Regions from separate parts of the Homo sapiens genome. Here regions 2 and 3 are each linked to region 1. The links are contacts of gene promoters, found by promoter capture Hi-C in human tissues and cell types (Jung and others, 2019). All regions are on one chromosome and are shown on one strand. The core of a region is centred on a gene start or on the middle of the fragment in contact, and the rest is flanking DNA. Distances in the headings are between cores, read along the strand shown.

Region 1 (5,149 bases), core at 813-3,312:
ACCGAACACAGTGTTCACTAATTAACTGTTTAAAATGGCTTTTCTTCTCCTTTGCCGCCTGCCCCTTCCATATCAAAACCACTCCCTTCTTATCTTGGGTCACACTTTTCTCCGACAGGCCTATTTCGCTCTTCCCCTTTGCGTCCACACCCACATGAACAAGGTAAAAAACATGGTTTATGTGCTTCAAGTTCTCGTCACTGTGTCCCTGGAGAAAAAAACGTACTTTTTTGAGCACCTACTATGAGCCAGTTTCACCAGCCATTCCTAGCACGGTGTTCCGCTAATGCAAACCTTAAGGCAGCCAATCAGCCATTTAATGATGTCAGTGATCAATAAATGGCAATTAGTAATTGACACGAATCCAACTCTTTTTTTTTCTGGAATGTCTTTTATTCATTATGAAGAAAAAAAAAACTCACACCCTTTACATTTTAAAGATGAAGCTTATGGGACAGCACGACGTCCCATGAGCCGGCGTCGGTTCTGGGTATCCTCCACGTGGCCTTTCCTGGACTTGCGTTATTTAAAATATGCGATTTCACTACTTGAGGTTACCGAGTACTAATTTTACAATACTGTGTAGCTACATGAAGCGGCTCGAAATATACTATTATCACTCCGTTTTAAGCAGCACGATGTCTGGATGAAGCATCAAAGCGAGATGGGTCAACTTAAAGGGCCTTTAAAACATCTTGAAGCAATAATAAGCCATACACTGAAGCAGGGGCGGTTTTAAACATTACACAGAACTTAAAACAATCGAACGAATTCGTCCTTTGTTCTTTTTATTACATTAATTATTACATTAATACTGTTTAAAAAGAAACTCAAAAGGCATTAAACTTAGGTACCAATCTACACAAAGTCCTCGAAGGGGCCTGGCTTGGACCGAACGCGCTTTTGTGCCGCCCCGCTCGCTCGCAGCACCCTGAAGGCCACTGAGCTTAGGGCGCTAGGTCCCTAGAAGCGACTTGAAATGAGGGGGTCGCCAGGCCAGGCCCTCGCTCTGCAGGGGAGGATCCGACCAAAGTTTGCCAAGTTTCCAGGCAAGCCCAACTGCGCAAATGCCGCTTTTTAGCTCCAGCGGCAGGCCTGGCCCGTGGGAGTTTTGCCCCAGGGGTCTCCGGGCCTTCAAAGAAAAGTCCCACGAGGTGGGGGGCGCCGCCTGGGCCGCCGGCCAGGGGGACCCGTCGCCCCAGGGCACAAAGAAAGAGCGCGCCTACAGGGTGTCCCCTGACCCCGGCGACTCGGGGCCAGGGAGGCTCGGCGCGCCCCAGCGGCCGCTCTTCCCCTCCCGAACCCGCCCGGCCCACTCGCTCCTGCACCGCGGCCGCCTCGGCTCGGCTTTTCTCTTGCAGTGAGCTGAGTGCGCTCAGCCGAGGAGGGGCCGCGCCGCGCCGCGCCGGCCGCGGGGCCCAGCCCTTCCCGCCGCGCCCGGGGCCGCCCTTCCCGCTGGAGCCGGCTGATCGATGGCCCTGGCAGCCCGCGCCCCCCGCCTCGGCTCGCCCGCGAGCCCGGCTGTGTGTTTTGGAAGCAGCGCAGCGGGCCGCAGCCGTGTGACGCCCGGAGCGGGCAGCGCCGCCCTTCCTTCCCCCCGGGCTCGGGCGGCGGCGCGGCGGCTGGGCCGGGCGGGAGGGCTGGCGGGGCGCGGACTCCGGGGAGGAGGGCGCGGGGAGGGGACGCGGGCGGGGACGCGGGCGGGGGGCGGAGGCCGCGCCGCGCACGCCCAGCCCCACGGCCGCGCCGCGCCTCGTGGGACAGGTTGGGCCGGCGGGGCGGCGCCCGGCTCCGGGGAATAATGAGTGTCTGTCAGGCCGTCCCCGGGTGACTGGGCGGGGCGGGGCGGAGGCGGCGCGGGAGGCGGGGGTGGCGGGGGAAGGGCGCAGGGCGGGGTGCGTGTTTGCGCGAGTGACTCGGCCGACCCCTCCGGCGGCTGCCTCCACCCAAGTGGGTGGGGACCCGCCCAGCCCGGGCGGCCGCGGCGGCTCCCTCTCCCCTCCCTGACCCTCCCACCCCGGGTCCCAGCCTCTACTTACCCCGCCAGCCCCGGGAGGCTCGCAGAGCGAGCGGCGCCGGCGTCATGTGACTGCCCGGAGTTGGTGCCAGGAGCCAGAGGGGAGCCAGGAGCGGAGCCGCGCGGAGCCGGGGCCCGAGCCGGAGCGCAGCGAGAGCGCCCGCCGCACGCGCGCCCGTCCCCGTCCCCTGCGGCCGCCAACGCCGCCCGGACTGGAGCCCTGACATTGCTGCGCTCGGGGGGCTCCAGGCAGCCCGTATCGGGGCCTTTATTTCTCGTCGGCGGCGCCCTGCACCGCGCCTCGCAAAGTAAGTCCCGTCTCCCTCACCTCTGCTCCGCACCCTGGTCCCTGCCGCCCCCCTCCTCGGCCAGTCTGGTTTCATTTTTTCTCCTGGAGGGGGCCGCGGGGAATGGGTCGGGGGTGCAGCGCTGGTGTTGGGGGGGGCGCCTGCGGGCTTGGGAAAGTGTGGCGGCTACACTTAGCCGGGGTGGGGGCGGAGAGCAAGCAAGGAGGAGGGGGTCACGGGTTCGCGGTGAAAAGTGAGGGGTTGAGGCGAGGCACCGTGCGGACCCCGGGTGCGGGGGAGCGGGGCTGGCAGCGCCCGCCGCCGTCCCGGGCAGGGCGCGGGCGGGGGCTCACCTGTGTGGTCCCCGGCCTCCTCCCGCCCGCTCACGATTCCCTCCAAAGCCCCAGAAATCTCCGTGCTCTCCGCGTGTGGCAACGTTGTTTGGAGAAAGGTAGCGCCGCGGCCGCGCGCTCCTGCTCCTCCCCCTCCCGGTGCCCCCCCACCACCACCACAACCCAGGCTCCCGCGTCCTTCCCCTCCCCTCCCTCCGCCCGCGCCCCCCGCCGCCCCCCTCCCAGGACACGGCGCGCGGCCGCTCGCCCGCCACAGCAAACTTGGAGCAGTCTCCCGGCCCTCTGGAAAGAAACTTAGGGCAATTGGGATTGGAGGCAGCATCCCATTCTCGGTTCTGGAGCCCAGGAGCTGCCAGGGCGTCTGGATCCTCCGGGGCAGGAGAAATGAGCTGGTCGGGTTTGGAGAGTCTTCCTGGGGGCATGGAGAGAACCTGCCGCAGTGCCTGGAGCAAGGATTGCAGCGTGGCTGAAGGCGGAAGACGCCTTAGGCAACTGCCTGCAGCCGAGCCTGATGGGGACCCAGGGACAGATCCCTGGATCAGGACCCATGGGACCTACCTAACATTTCCAAGTGGCTTTCTTAGAGATGGCAGATGAGATCTGGAATTGTCATATTCATTTTTTTGGGCAGATAGCTACTGACAAGGAGAAGCACTTTTCTGGTTTAAATTTTATAGCAGTATACAATAATACTAGAAGAATGTGAATGAGACTTATTTTTAATAAGTCAAGTTAAACGGAAATTGGAAATTGCTCACCTTCTTGTATTTCACTAAAATAAACATTTTACACTTAACCACTGAATTTCTTACTCAGAATTTATGTTTCCATTAATATCACCCAAGACATTTTAAATATATTGATTATATTCTCACAAGAGTCTGGTATATGGGAAAAAGTATGAAGTGGTATTCTGACAAGTACCTGAAATGTGCCAGCAAAATCAAGTGGGGAATAGGCCAGTTGTTCATTATAGGTTTTTCCACACAGCAGTTTTGTGCTATCCTTTTCTGTACGAATTTGAGGAGCATTTTTATAAGAGAAATTCATCTGGATGATCTGCCTCACCCTAGGGAAGAAGACTTGCTTTTAGGGGAAAAAACAATCTGCTAGCATTAATATCTACAAATTTTTTGGAGTTAGTAATAGTGTTTAAGGAAAGTGTCCACGAGTGATTTCTTCTGGTTTGAAAAGAGGTATGTTAGTTGACCTTAGGCTGTTAATAGAAACCTGAAATTAGATGTTCGATTAAATTAAACTCCCTAGAGAAACTGGTATCTTCATTTCTGCAGTCAGTGGGCTTTGCTGCAGAACTATTTATTAGAAGAAAAAAACCTAATGTACTATCGGTAAGTTCAATGATGATACATTGTAAAGAACATTTAGCTTGCATGAAAGGGAATGCAAGTACAAAAATCTCAACATGGGAATAACAAAGAAAAGTAACTGCTTAGACCACAAAACCTTGTCAGGTACAAAACGACAACAGAGTTTTGCAGAAAGCTATTGTTTTATTCACTGCAAAGTTTCTAAATTAAAACCCAATCTTCTTGTTGCTATGGGCACAGTGATGCTCTTTTTTTCCTTTTTTTTTCTTTTTTTTTTTCCTTACCTGTACTTAGTCTGCACACACCACATTCTTAAATCTCTGATAACGTAAGCTTGAGTTAAACAGTCCTGGCTAACAAAGTAAAGAGAAATAATGGGAAAGGAACTGTGAATGGATTTTACTATCTTAAAAATAACCCAAAGGGAAAATAGACATTTTAGAATGACTTCTAGAAATTAGTACTCTGGTGTACAGATTGCATAATAATTTTTAGATAAATGTCAGGAACAGAATCACATTCTTAAAAGGCGAATTTCTATAAACGTGTGTATATGTTGAACAGATGAGCAGCTCTGCAAAGATGTGTATAACTGCATTTGAAAAAGACAGTGAAAATTTTGGGTTACTGTAGATGTCCCACAGTCTGTCTTGGAATTTAGTTCTGTGACTAAAGGAGGCTTACAGTTGCTCCAATTTTGGTTCTGTGGGGTACCCCAATTGTAATCTGAATTCCTAACAGCAGTGCTCTATCTTTTTTCCTCTTGATGCACTGAGGCTGAACCATAATCATTACCCTAACTCGGAATTTGATCTGAGCTAGGGACTAGCCATTGGAATGGGGCAGAAAGGGACAAAAGAAATCAGGAGGGAGGCTAGTGTTCATTAGGAAGGTCTCTGCTGCTTGAATATGATAAAATCACATTTCACTTATGATGTTTACTGTATGTGGCAGCTCTTATTTGTAAATAGGGCAGGTCCCCTGTATAAAGCTGGTGTTATTATTCACACCCGTAGAACAAACACCTCCACCCCCCTGTTGTTGTCTTAAAAAACTCCAGCTGCTCATGAATATAGGGTCAGGGAGGGCCGGCTAAATGTTTCTCTGTGCTTTCTCTCCAGCACAGCCAGCAGAGCTGTTTCCTGTTCTTTGTTTCAAGGCTGG
Region 2 (5,149 bases), core at 838-3,337, 870 kb before region 1:
CCTGATAATTTAAAGGGGCTCTCATTCTTCAGATAAAAATTTTCTTTCCTTCCTTTTTCCTCCACACCATTTTGAACAAACTTTCTGTTTTCTTAGTTATCACTTTCCTCCTAATAGTCTTTAGAGCAAACAGAGCAAGTAAGCCAACCAGAAAAGCCACAGAAAACACACTTTCCATATACCTACCGTCTATTTTCCTCTTAGACGCATACTTGATCCTACGACAAAAGACTTGTCTCCAAATAAATCGATTTAAAATATGTGAAACATTATATCTTTTAAAAAGTGACGTTTCATAATAAAACTATGTCTACTATGCATTTGCTTTGAGTTTTTATAACTTTCCAAAAAAGTTTTCCTCTTGCCGGTAAATACGTATCCTATTTCTACAGCTCTGGGATGGTATCTATTTATTATACATTATTTATCTCTAAAATGTTTTACTAAGCCAAAAAGGAGAAGAACACATCATACGGAACAGTACCCTGTGTAAGGAGGGAAGTGTCAGAGACTCCATAGTGTACTCCCAGTGTGACCAGTGAGAGCTACTGCCCTGCCCTGAGTTGAGATGTTCTGAAATAGCTATTGCATTTCTATGTGCCCTCTTTTTCTGCCATTATTAGCAAACAGTTTTCATCCATTGGCTGACAAAACTGGAGTAATGGATAGTGCTGGACCAGCAGTAAAGAAACAAGGAATATCAGCCTGAATGTGGGAATGCAAGTTTTAGTGCAATTCAACAGCTATCAAGGAAAAGGTCAAGGAGGTCTAGGATAAGGGGCGGCAGGCAAGCGGGCATCAGTGGAGGCCCTTTGACTTTTTGAAGAGCTTCAGAAACAACACTATAGCCTGGAAAGGCTGATCTACACTGGAAGACATGGTAGCTCCTGGCAAGGAATGACCCCAGCCGAGAAGAGCAACTGCTAATGCGTGATGAAGGATGGATGAGGCCTGGGATGCAATGGGCTCATAAAGCACTGACTACCTGGAGTCCGTGAGAGCTCTCATTTCCAGTAGGAAGTTTCACTGTCTCCAGGGCAAATGAAGGATATGTGGACATTATACATTTTTTAAAAAATTTAAGTGCAAGCATTTTTGTTCTCCCCATTTATTTGTTCATTCATTCGTTTATTCAACTAACATCCATTATGTGTTCTTTGCTGCACGCTGAAGATACAAAAAGCATTAAGAAAGGAACTCTGTTTGTAAGAATCTCACAGTTCCTTAGGAGCTGGGTGTGGGATGTTCTTTGCCCCTCTAGATCTATTCTCTGCCCTTCGCCACCTTGCCCAGTGGCTCCTGGAAGCTGACTTTTCTGGAAAGTATCAACAGGGCTCCCTTGCCTTCCAGCTTCAGTTGGGCTCAGCCACTAGGAAGCACAAGAGGAGAGGAAGGGTAGCAGGAGAGGAAGGGCGGCAGAAGAGGAAAGTGAAGCATTGCCCTGGCTTCCTTCATGCCTGCTAAGGCTTAACAATGGCTGCACTTCCCTAAAGCCACAACTGCTGAGAAGCAGCCTGCTTCCAGAACTACAACCAGCTCTTCTGTTCCTGGCTTTTCCAGGCCCAGGGCTGACAGTGGCCCCCCACAGTGTAGCCTGGAAGTGCTTTATCACTCTTGGTTCTCCTTGACCTCTACATGGCCCCTCCATTAAGCTTTCTTTCATTTATTTCCTGTATGATGACATAACAAGGTTAGCTGGGCAATAAGCAAATATCCTATAGTGTCAAGTGTACAATGAGGGCAAGAAAGGATTAATCAGTCCTAACTGGGGGGGGGGGGGTCAGGTGAGGCTGTGGTCTATAAAGTCCTGTCCCTATTCACCCTTTCAATTGCATGCTGAAGTTTCTCTAAGAACATGAAATCAATCACGTTATCTTCCAGCAATGGCAGTGGAAAAATCTGATGACAACCCCAGGAAGAAAGTTCAATGGCCATGTGATTGACTATATAATGATGTTCCATTTATCTAAAAATAGTACTTTGCTTAACTTACACTAACGCACCTTACAGTTATGAGACACTACCTACTTAAAATAGCATACAGTGAAAGTAGACCTAATCTACCTCCTAGTTGAGTAGTAACAAAAATGTCTAACAGTTACTGAGTTCTCAACTAAACCTATAGTATTAATATGATAATTATGTATGGAATTATGCATATAGATATTATGTATAGAAGTGTGTCTACTAATTTCTTACAATGCCACCACAGAATAATAGTATTATTCCCATTTTATAGCAGAAGAAACTGAGGCTTAGAGAGAATTTAGTGACTTGCTCAAAGTCATAAAGCTAGTAAGTGGCAGAGCTGGGATTGTAATCCCATCTATCTCCATTATTAACCACTATGCTCCCTAATAAAAAAAAATTCTCATATCATGTGTTAGCTAAGGTAACATAGGATGCATTAACAGATAAACCCCCAAATGTCAGCGATTTACCATAACATTTATCTCTCACTCATATCAAGTCCAGTTGGTAGTGGTTCATGTGGGAAGAGTCCACTCTAGCTCAACAGTTCAAGACCCAGGTAGACAGAGGCTCTGACCTCTTCAACATGTACCTCCCATGTTGTCCTGAGTGCTAAAGTCCAGCCAGCAGAAAGAAGAGAGAGAGAAAGAAGATTTTTATGATTCAGGGGTGGAAATTCCAGACATAAATTCTACCCTTATTCCATTAGACAGGAATCCATTGTATGATTGGGAAATCAAGTCTAGCTGAGTGTCTAAAAGGAAAGAGAAAGGATTTGATAGACAGCAAGACTCACACTGCTTCCAATTATAACTCCCCAATTGTTCTCAGGTGACAGGAGGCTCTGTCTCAACCTGATGACCAGAGAATGAGATGAAGATCAAGTGGATTCCACAATATTTAGTTTTTGCTGTCAATATCATGTCAGTCAGGAGAACAGATAACACTCTAGGTCTTTCAAACAATGAAAATTTAATAAAAGGAATTTATACAAGGACTGAGAAGCCAAATAGGGAACTGCAAGACTACCCAGAGATTAGAGATACAGGAGGCCAGCACCATCCCCAGGAATTGAAGGTCACTAGGATGAAGTGGTGTCATCAGAGTCCCAAAGCTGGGGCTTTTCTAGTGGGAGATGCCCAGAAGGAGGGACGGGCTATTGGGCAGGGGGTGAAGCCACAAAGGAGACCCAACTACCAAAGAGGGAGGGAGAGAGAGAAAGAGGGACTCTCTTCCTCATTGCCCCAAGTCTTCCTTTAGAGCCTCATTTTGGCTTGTAAATTAAAAACAAAATTCTAAGTACCCCAACCAACTGAATGTACCCCTCTTGGCCAAGGAAACTCCAGAGAAACTGGTTTCCCAGCCATGATGAAACAGACACACCTCATTATACCTTTTCTAATTATGGAGAATTTCTGTAATGAGATTCTGTTGGGAGGTGGAGATTCACAACTAGTATGGGAGCTGAAGGGGACAGATACTTCCTTCTTCTTCCTGGAAGAAGAGATTGAACAGATGACCAAGGCTTAGCCAATTAGATGCTCCCACCTGAGGTCTCAACTCTTGACCACCAGAAACAACTGGAGAGTTTAGAAAGTATTCACAGCACCAGCATCCACACAAGGCAGATCCAGTGGGGCCCCTGGGCAGCTCCAACAGTCATTCCAGCAGGGTGTTCTGGCTGCTCATGCCAATCATGGCTGTCTGATCCCTCTTGGTTCCTACCTGTTTTTTAAGTCTCATTCTTCAAACTTCCCTTTGATCTATGAGCTATTCATTATCTGCTTACATTAATGGGTCATTTCTATTGCTTCAACCAATGCCTGACACATCTACCAATACTTCAACTCACTCCCTCCTTTGTCGTTCTTTTCACCTGTCTGCAAACTTCAGCCTTTGTTTTTTGACTGTGTCCCCTTCTTTGTTCCCACATCCTGACTTTGGATCATTGCTGGGGAAAAAAAATCACATTCTTCAGATTGGAACCAACTGAGAAGTTCAGGCTCTATAACCTCAGGCACAATCCTTCCAGGAATCCTTAGCTCCTCATCCCATTCCCCCAAAGAGCCACTTCAATTCTTAGACATTCTTCTCAAGCCTCACTTCCATCATCTCTTGCCCTCCTCATTCCCAAGAACTTGCAGCAAACAACATAACAACAAATAGCTTGTCTCTGATTCACAGGCAAACTAGAGACCATGAGATACAAACTTGACTGAATAAACAATCACTGTATGAAATCGTTGCAGCTACACTCATTATGTAACTAGTATCTTGTGCTTCTCTTTTTCACCTTAAGGTTATTTTCCCTAAAAAACTACCAAGTATTTACATAGACCACATACACTTTTTCTGCTTAGAGAGTATGTTAATATGTGTGTACTGTGTGTGTGTGTGTGTGTGTGTGTGTGTGCATGAACGTATGACACACGTTTCATCTTTTTGTTGGAATAAACTCTCCCTTTCTGTTTTTTTTATTTTGTCCTATAAATGGAGCAGCTATAACTGGTGTCATTTCTTTTTAGTTAATTCCTTTAGGATATATTTCCAAAATAGAATTATTGGGTTAAAGGGCATAAAGAATTTTTAGAGAGCCAGCTGCATAATGCGAATTTATTCTCCAGAAAGACGTAACCCTTCTGCAGTGGAAAAGCATATTTTCTTTTCCGATGGTGATGGTGTAGCCCTGGCTACACTGGACATTATTATTGCTATTAATTTTGTTTCCTGTTTTATATTCCTTTTATTCTATTGGCTCATAGACTCTTTTTCTATGAGATAATATACTATCTGTTGTTTTGGATCACCTGTAATCATCTACTAAATGTATTCTACCTGTAATTCTTACATGCATGTGCTCATTATGTTTGAATAATGAGGTTTTTATCAGATGTTTAGTGTATTTCCTCTACCTTGTTTACTTCTTTCAATATTTATTTTAATACAGCACGTGTATGGAAATTTTAGTTTGACTTGACATATTTGATCATATGCATTGCATCTCTGGTCATAGCCTGTACTTCTTAAAACTTCAAATAGGCTGGGCACAGTGGCTCACACCTATAATCCCAGCACTTTGGAAGGCTAAAGCAGGAGGATGGCTTGAGTCTAGGCATTTGAGACAAGCCTGGGCAACATAGAAAGAACTCTCTCTACAAAAAATACAAAAATTAGCTGA
Region 3 (5,149 bases), core at 1,796-4,295, 670 kb before region 1:
GTCTCTTATGGGGAAAATCTACTTTCTCTAAAGAATCCTCTTCACTTTCCAGATCTTTTCCTTGAACCAGGAGAGAATTAACTAAGAGTCTGGCACATTTTTTGTTAGGTCTGATAAGATCTCTGAAGCCTGCTACCTGGAGGCCTCATCTGCATGATAAAAACCTTGGTCTTCACCCAGGTTATGACCTTGTCTTAACCTACACACTTATTTCTATTGATTCCAGATCTTTAGATAATAACGCTTTCAACTAATTGCCACTCAGAAAATATTTGAATCCACCTATGACTTGCAACCTCCCCTCCACCTTCAAGTTGTCCCACCTTTCCAGACCAAACCAATGTACACCTTACATATATTGATTGATGTCTTATGTCTCCCTAAAATGTATAAAGCAAGCTATAGCCCCGACCACCTTGAGCACGTGTTCTCAGGACCTCCTGGGGTTGTGTCATGGGTCGTGGTCCTCACATCTGGCTCAGAATAAATCTCTTTAAATGTTTTACGGAGATTGATTCTTTTTGCTGACACTAATATTTAGATTCTTTCTGTTGTTCTAGCACATTCTGCATGAATTAAACATAAACCCTGTTCCCTAGTACAGAACAAGAGCAAACTGCTTTCTTTAGGCCACAAGTAACTTAGATCAGTTAAGGGGAAAATGGGGGAGAGAGGAGGACATTGGCTTCTGCCACCAGCAGCCTGTGTGACCTTGCCCAAGGTCACAACTCTGTGGGGTTAGTTCCCCTTCCCTGAAATAGGTGTAGGGAGGGACTCCTTGACAGTTTCTGGTTTTTTTCGTCTCTCAGAGTGCAATGAAGAATTTCTTCATGGCTAAGGCTGTTAGACTCCAGAAAATAGTTTGCCAACCAAAGACACAGAGTTTCCAATTTTGGAATACTTTAAAAATAGGAAGGAAGTTTATTTGTTTAGCAGAATTTATAATTGTAGGACTGCCCAAGGCAGAGAATTAGCCAAGTGGTATTTTGCGGAAGTTCTTTTTAAAGGGTGGGCCCAAAGGAAACCAGTCATTAGGTGGAAATAAACTGTCAGATTTTTGAGACGTTATTTGCTTAGGGACATTTACACTGGTCTATTGTGACAGTCTCTATTGTGTTAGGCTTTTAAAAGAAATATGTAAGTTTCCAAGTTTAAAATGTTAGAGCAAGTGTCCAGTCCACGGCCTGTGGGCTACATACAGGCCAGGATGGTTTTGAATGTGGCCCAAAAAAGATTCATCAACTTTCTTAAAACATTGAGTTTTTTTTTTTTAAGCTAATCAACTATCATTAGTGTTAATGTATTTTATGTGTGGGCCAAGACAATTCTTCCAGTGTGGCCCAGGGAAGCCAAAAGATTGGATACCCCTGTATTAGAACTTGTAAAATTTGACTTCAGAAACACAACCAAAAGCCCGCTTATGAGTAAGGAGTTTGTGGCCCCTTGTGTACTGATTATTAATCAATTAATTGTATAATAAGCATGAAATATTGCTAGTACATCTAAGGCCAAAGCCTTCTTACGGTTCCAGAAAAAGCTGTATTCCTGAATTTCCAGGTGAAGGGAAGGGATTCTCCTTCCATTTCCAGAAATATGTGAATATAATACATAGGGATTTTTATCACACTAGTGTTTCAGTAAAAGCAGCCCTTCAAGTCTGTGCCATCCAGTTTTGGTGTAACTGAAAGAACATCGTACCAAAGTTTGATTTTTGTCAATTCTCTAGTGTGTTAATCAGCTGAGAATGTGGTCTCTGGATATTTTTCCCCAAGGAAAGAGCTGGATGTACTAGACCACCAGACCACACAACTCTGTATTTGTTTTGCAATAACTACACTATTTGGGGGAGTAGTGTGGTGTTTCCAGACGTTCTTGGTCAAGAAATCTGGCCGCTTCAAGCTCAGTGTTGATCACAATCTATTTCTTTTGCCTCTACTCTGTGGCAGGCACTTGAGACACAACTGCCAAGATGAGAGAGACCCAGCTGCTGACCTGGGGCGGGGGTGGGTGGGGGGAAGGTGGTGAAGGCAGTCACAGAGTCAGCCTGCCAGAAAGCAGGTGGGGAACTGTAAACCTCTGAGTAGCCCCTTGGTATACAGAGGTAATAATTTCCCAAATGTAGTAAATCCCACTTTACAACCTCACGGTTAATTTTGATCAGGGATAAGTAGAACTGACTATACACTGTTAACTTAGATATTGTCCTTCTCAAAAACATCATTTTTATTCTGGGTGCCAGAGATTTGGCTTGGGTGTGGGTGTTAAGAACAGTCCACAGTGTCCTGGAGTACCTCTCCGCTGATCTGGGGGCTCTTTAAACCTCTCTAACAAGTTTTTGTGCTAATCCTGACTGAGTAGATGGAGGCAGTGGAGCCCAGCTGGCCTGTCACTATGGGGCAGAGGGTGACTCTACCCTCAAGCCCTGCATGAAGACCCCAGGGTGGGCACCACAGCCCTTTACAGTCACTTAGCACCTGCTGCTGAACACGAGCATGCAGACCTGGTAAGGCTTGTGAGTTTCAGAGAATTCCTGCAAGTCCCTGGAAATGTGGGCACTGGCAGCTCTTCTCTCTCTTTTTTTTTTTTAAATTTAGTGGGCTTAGAGGTTTTAGCCTAATAAGGAAATTTTACACTGGACGATTTTATCCCAAATAAAAGCAAATCATAGGGACCCAGTGTTGCCTAAAAAACCAGTCCTTACTGGGGAGGTCTAGTTGTGTCTAGCCTGGCTCTGTGACCAGATGCCAGCCATTCCAGCCTCCTGTGGCTGCATTTCATCCCGAAAGTGAATAAGGTGAGTGAGTGATTCAAAGGTCCCATCCAGGGGGTGACAAAGAATATTCCAGGTGGAAGAAACTGCATGAGCAAAGGTATGGAGGTGGAAACCCAAATGAACAGAGGCTTAGGAGGTGTGTTCGAAACATGTTTGGTACAAACGGAACTTACAGAGAAAGAAGCCAGGTGAAATAAGGCAGGAAGAGTTGAGTGGAGCCCCATTGGTGGGAGACCCTGAGGGTTAGCAGGACTGTGTTTGTTCTGGTAGGGATTGCAGAGGAGCCCTAGAAGGTTTGTGAGCAGGAGGCTGACCCCATCAGACCTGTGTTTCCAGAAGATCAGGCTGTGCTGGATAGCAGGATGGATGTAGGGAGATGCCAGAGGCGGCAGAGGAGAGGTCTTGCTGGGGTCTGGCTGAAGCAAGTGTAGGCCCGGACCAGCGCTTGAGGTTTTGGGCTCGTGGTGAGAGAATATACACCCAAAGAGCTGAGGGAAAGAAGGAGTAAGGAGAAAGAAGAGCAGAAGCCACTTACCAGGTTTTGAGCCCAGTTACCTAGAAGGCATTTGGGAAACAAGGAAGTAGGAAGAAAGGCCTATTTTAAGGAAAAGAGAATGAGCTTGATGTGGATATTTTAAGGTCAAGGACTAGAAGTCTGGTGTTTTTTTTTTTTTTTTTTTGAGACGGAGTCTCGCTCTATCACCCAGGCTGGAGTGCAGTGGCGCGATCTTGGCTCACTGCAAGCTCCGCCTCCCGGGTTCACGCCATTCTCCTGCCTCAGCCTCCCGAGTAGCTGGGACTACAGGTGCCTGTCACCACGCCCGGCTAGTTTTTTGTATTTTTAGTAGAGATGGGGTTTCACCGTGTTAGCCAGATGGTCTTGATCTCCTGACCTCGTGATCTGCCCGCCTCGGCCTCCCAAAGTGCTGGGATTACAGGTGTGAGCCACCATGCCTGGCCGATTCTTTTTTTTTTTTTTTTCTTTTTTTGGAGACAGAGTCTCACTCTGTCCCCTAGGCTGGAGTGCAGTGGCGCGATCTCAGCTCACTGCAACCTCCGCCTCCTGGGTTCAAGTGATTCTCCTGCCTTGGCCTCCCGAGTAGCCAGGATTACAGGCGTGTGTCATCATGCCCAGCTAATTTTGTATTTTTAGTAGAGATGGGGTTTCACCATGTTAGCCAGGACGGTCTCGAACTCCTGACCTCAGGTGATCCGCCTGCCTCAGCCTCCCAAAATGTTGGGATTACAGGCGTGAGCCACCGCGCCCGGCCTGGTGATTCTTTAAATAGGTGATTGGAAATGTTAGCGAAGTTTAGGAAAGAATTCAGAGCTGGAAATGTAGAGAAAGAAACCATCTTTCTTAGTTTTTGGGGAGTAGATGCCATCCTGAGAGAGAGGGAGAGACAGAGAGAGAGAATCAGAACACTATGAAGAATCTTTTTTAAGATGTCTGTGAAATGAAAGATTTTACTAAATACATTCTAAAGGAGAGAATTACATTAGTAAGATTTCATTACCCTGCGCCTCCCCTTAAGGCTGATCTTTATTTTTTTCCTCTTGTAACTAAATCAAGATGAAGCCTTGCTTTTGAAAATGTCATTAGGATTCAGAGACTACAATTCCCACTTGGTAGATGGAGTTCTTGTTCCTGCATTGTGGTGAGTGGATCAAAGTTCAGTTCCAGCAAGTCACTGAAGCCCCTCAACATACAGTAGCACTCCCTTGGCATGGGGCAAACAACAAAGCTTTATTTATTTATTTATTTTTGAGATGCAGTCTCGCTCTGTTGCCCAGGCTGGAATGCAGTGGCGCAATCTCAACTCACTGCAACCTCCGCCTCCCGGGTTCAAGCAATTCTCCTGCCTCAGCCTCCCAAGTAGCTGGGATTACAGGCGCCCGCCACCGTACCCAGCTAATTTTTGTATTTTTAGTAGAGACGGGGTTTCACCATGTTGGCCAGGCTGGTCTCGAACTCCGGACCTCAAGTGATCCACCCACCTTGACCTCCCAAAGTGCTGGCATTAAGGGCGTGAGCCACCGCGCCCGGCCACAACAAAGCTTTGAGCACATTCCCAGCATCAGCTCTTGGCTGGCGAAGCCAGTCTTTATCTCCTGTCAGCCTTGGTTTTGGTGTTGGTTCTCCAGAAATTCCCTGATTGTAAAATATCTGATCTCGTGAAAATGAAGTCAGCACTTCCCAGAAGTTGAGAGGCCTGAAGGGGGAGTAAAAACCGATTTCAAATCCTGCCTGGAGGGAACCTGCTCAGGAGGTCCTGGAAGGTGGAGGCAGGCTCTCATCGCCTGTCTTTATTAAATAAAGCCCTAAAGCCCTAGACTGTGGTGCTCGAAACTTTTTAAGGGATGCCTGACTCCTCA

What was found. The method cuts DNA at HindIII sites, captures the fragments that hold promoters and counts their contacts. A contact is called where the count stands out against the background at its distance.
Region 2: a contact is called between a fragment that was not itself captured here and the fragment with the promoter of KLF3 in region 1, in 1 of the 25 tissues and cell types used here (lymphoblastoid cells).
Region 3: a fragment that was not itself captured here is called in contact with the fragment with the promoter of KLF3 in region 1 in 1 of the 25 tissues and cell types used here (spleen).

Annotation. Positions count from the first base shown.
Region 1 is chr4:38,662,137-38,667,285 of GRCh38, forward strand. KLF3 (KLF transcription factor 3) reads left to right here and starts at 2,063. Exons shown (of 6, transcript NM_016531.6): 1 at 2,063-2,325. It overlaps KLF3-AS1 (KLF3 antisense RNA 1), which reads right to left and starts at 2,757. Exons shown (of 16, transcript NR_171644.1): 1 at 2,658-2,757. RefSeq lists enhancers at 1-252, 4,287-5,137, 5,138-5,149, silencers at 964-1,483, 1,514-1,783, 1,794-2,393, 2,454-2,803 and a promoter at 1,523-2,325. The HindIII fragment of the contact is 5,536 bases long and covers 1-5,149 here.
Region 2 is chr4:37,796,117-37,801,265 of GRCh38, forward strand. No RefSeq gene overlaps it. Among named protein-coding and RNA genes, the nearest start is that of PGM2, 28 kb to the right of the region's middle. The HindIII fragment of the contact is 3,117 bases long and covers 530-3,646 here.
Region 3 is chr4:37,989,060-37,994,208 of GRCh38, forward strand. The region is part of intron 2 of TBC1D1 (TBC1 domain family member 1); the gene reads left to right. Among named protein-coding and RNA genes, the nearest start is that of PTTG2, 31 kb to the left of the region's middle. RefSeq lists an enhancer at 3,962-4,131. The HindIII fragment of the contact is 3,258 bases long and covers 1,417-4,674 here.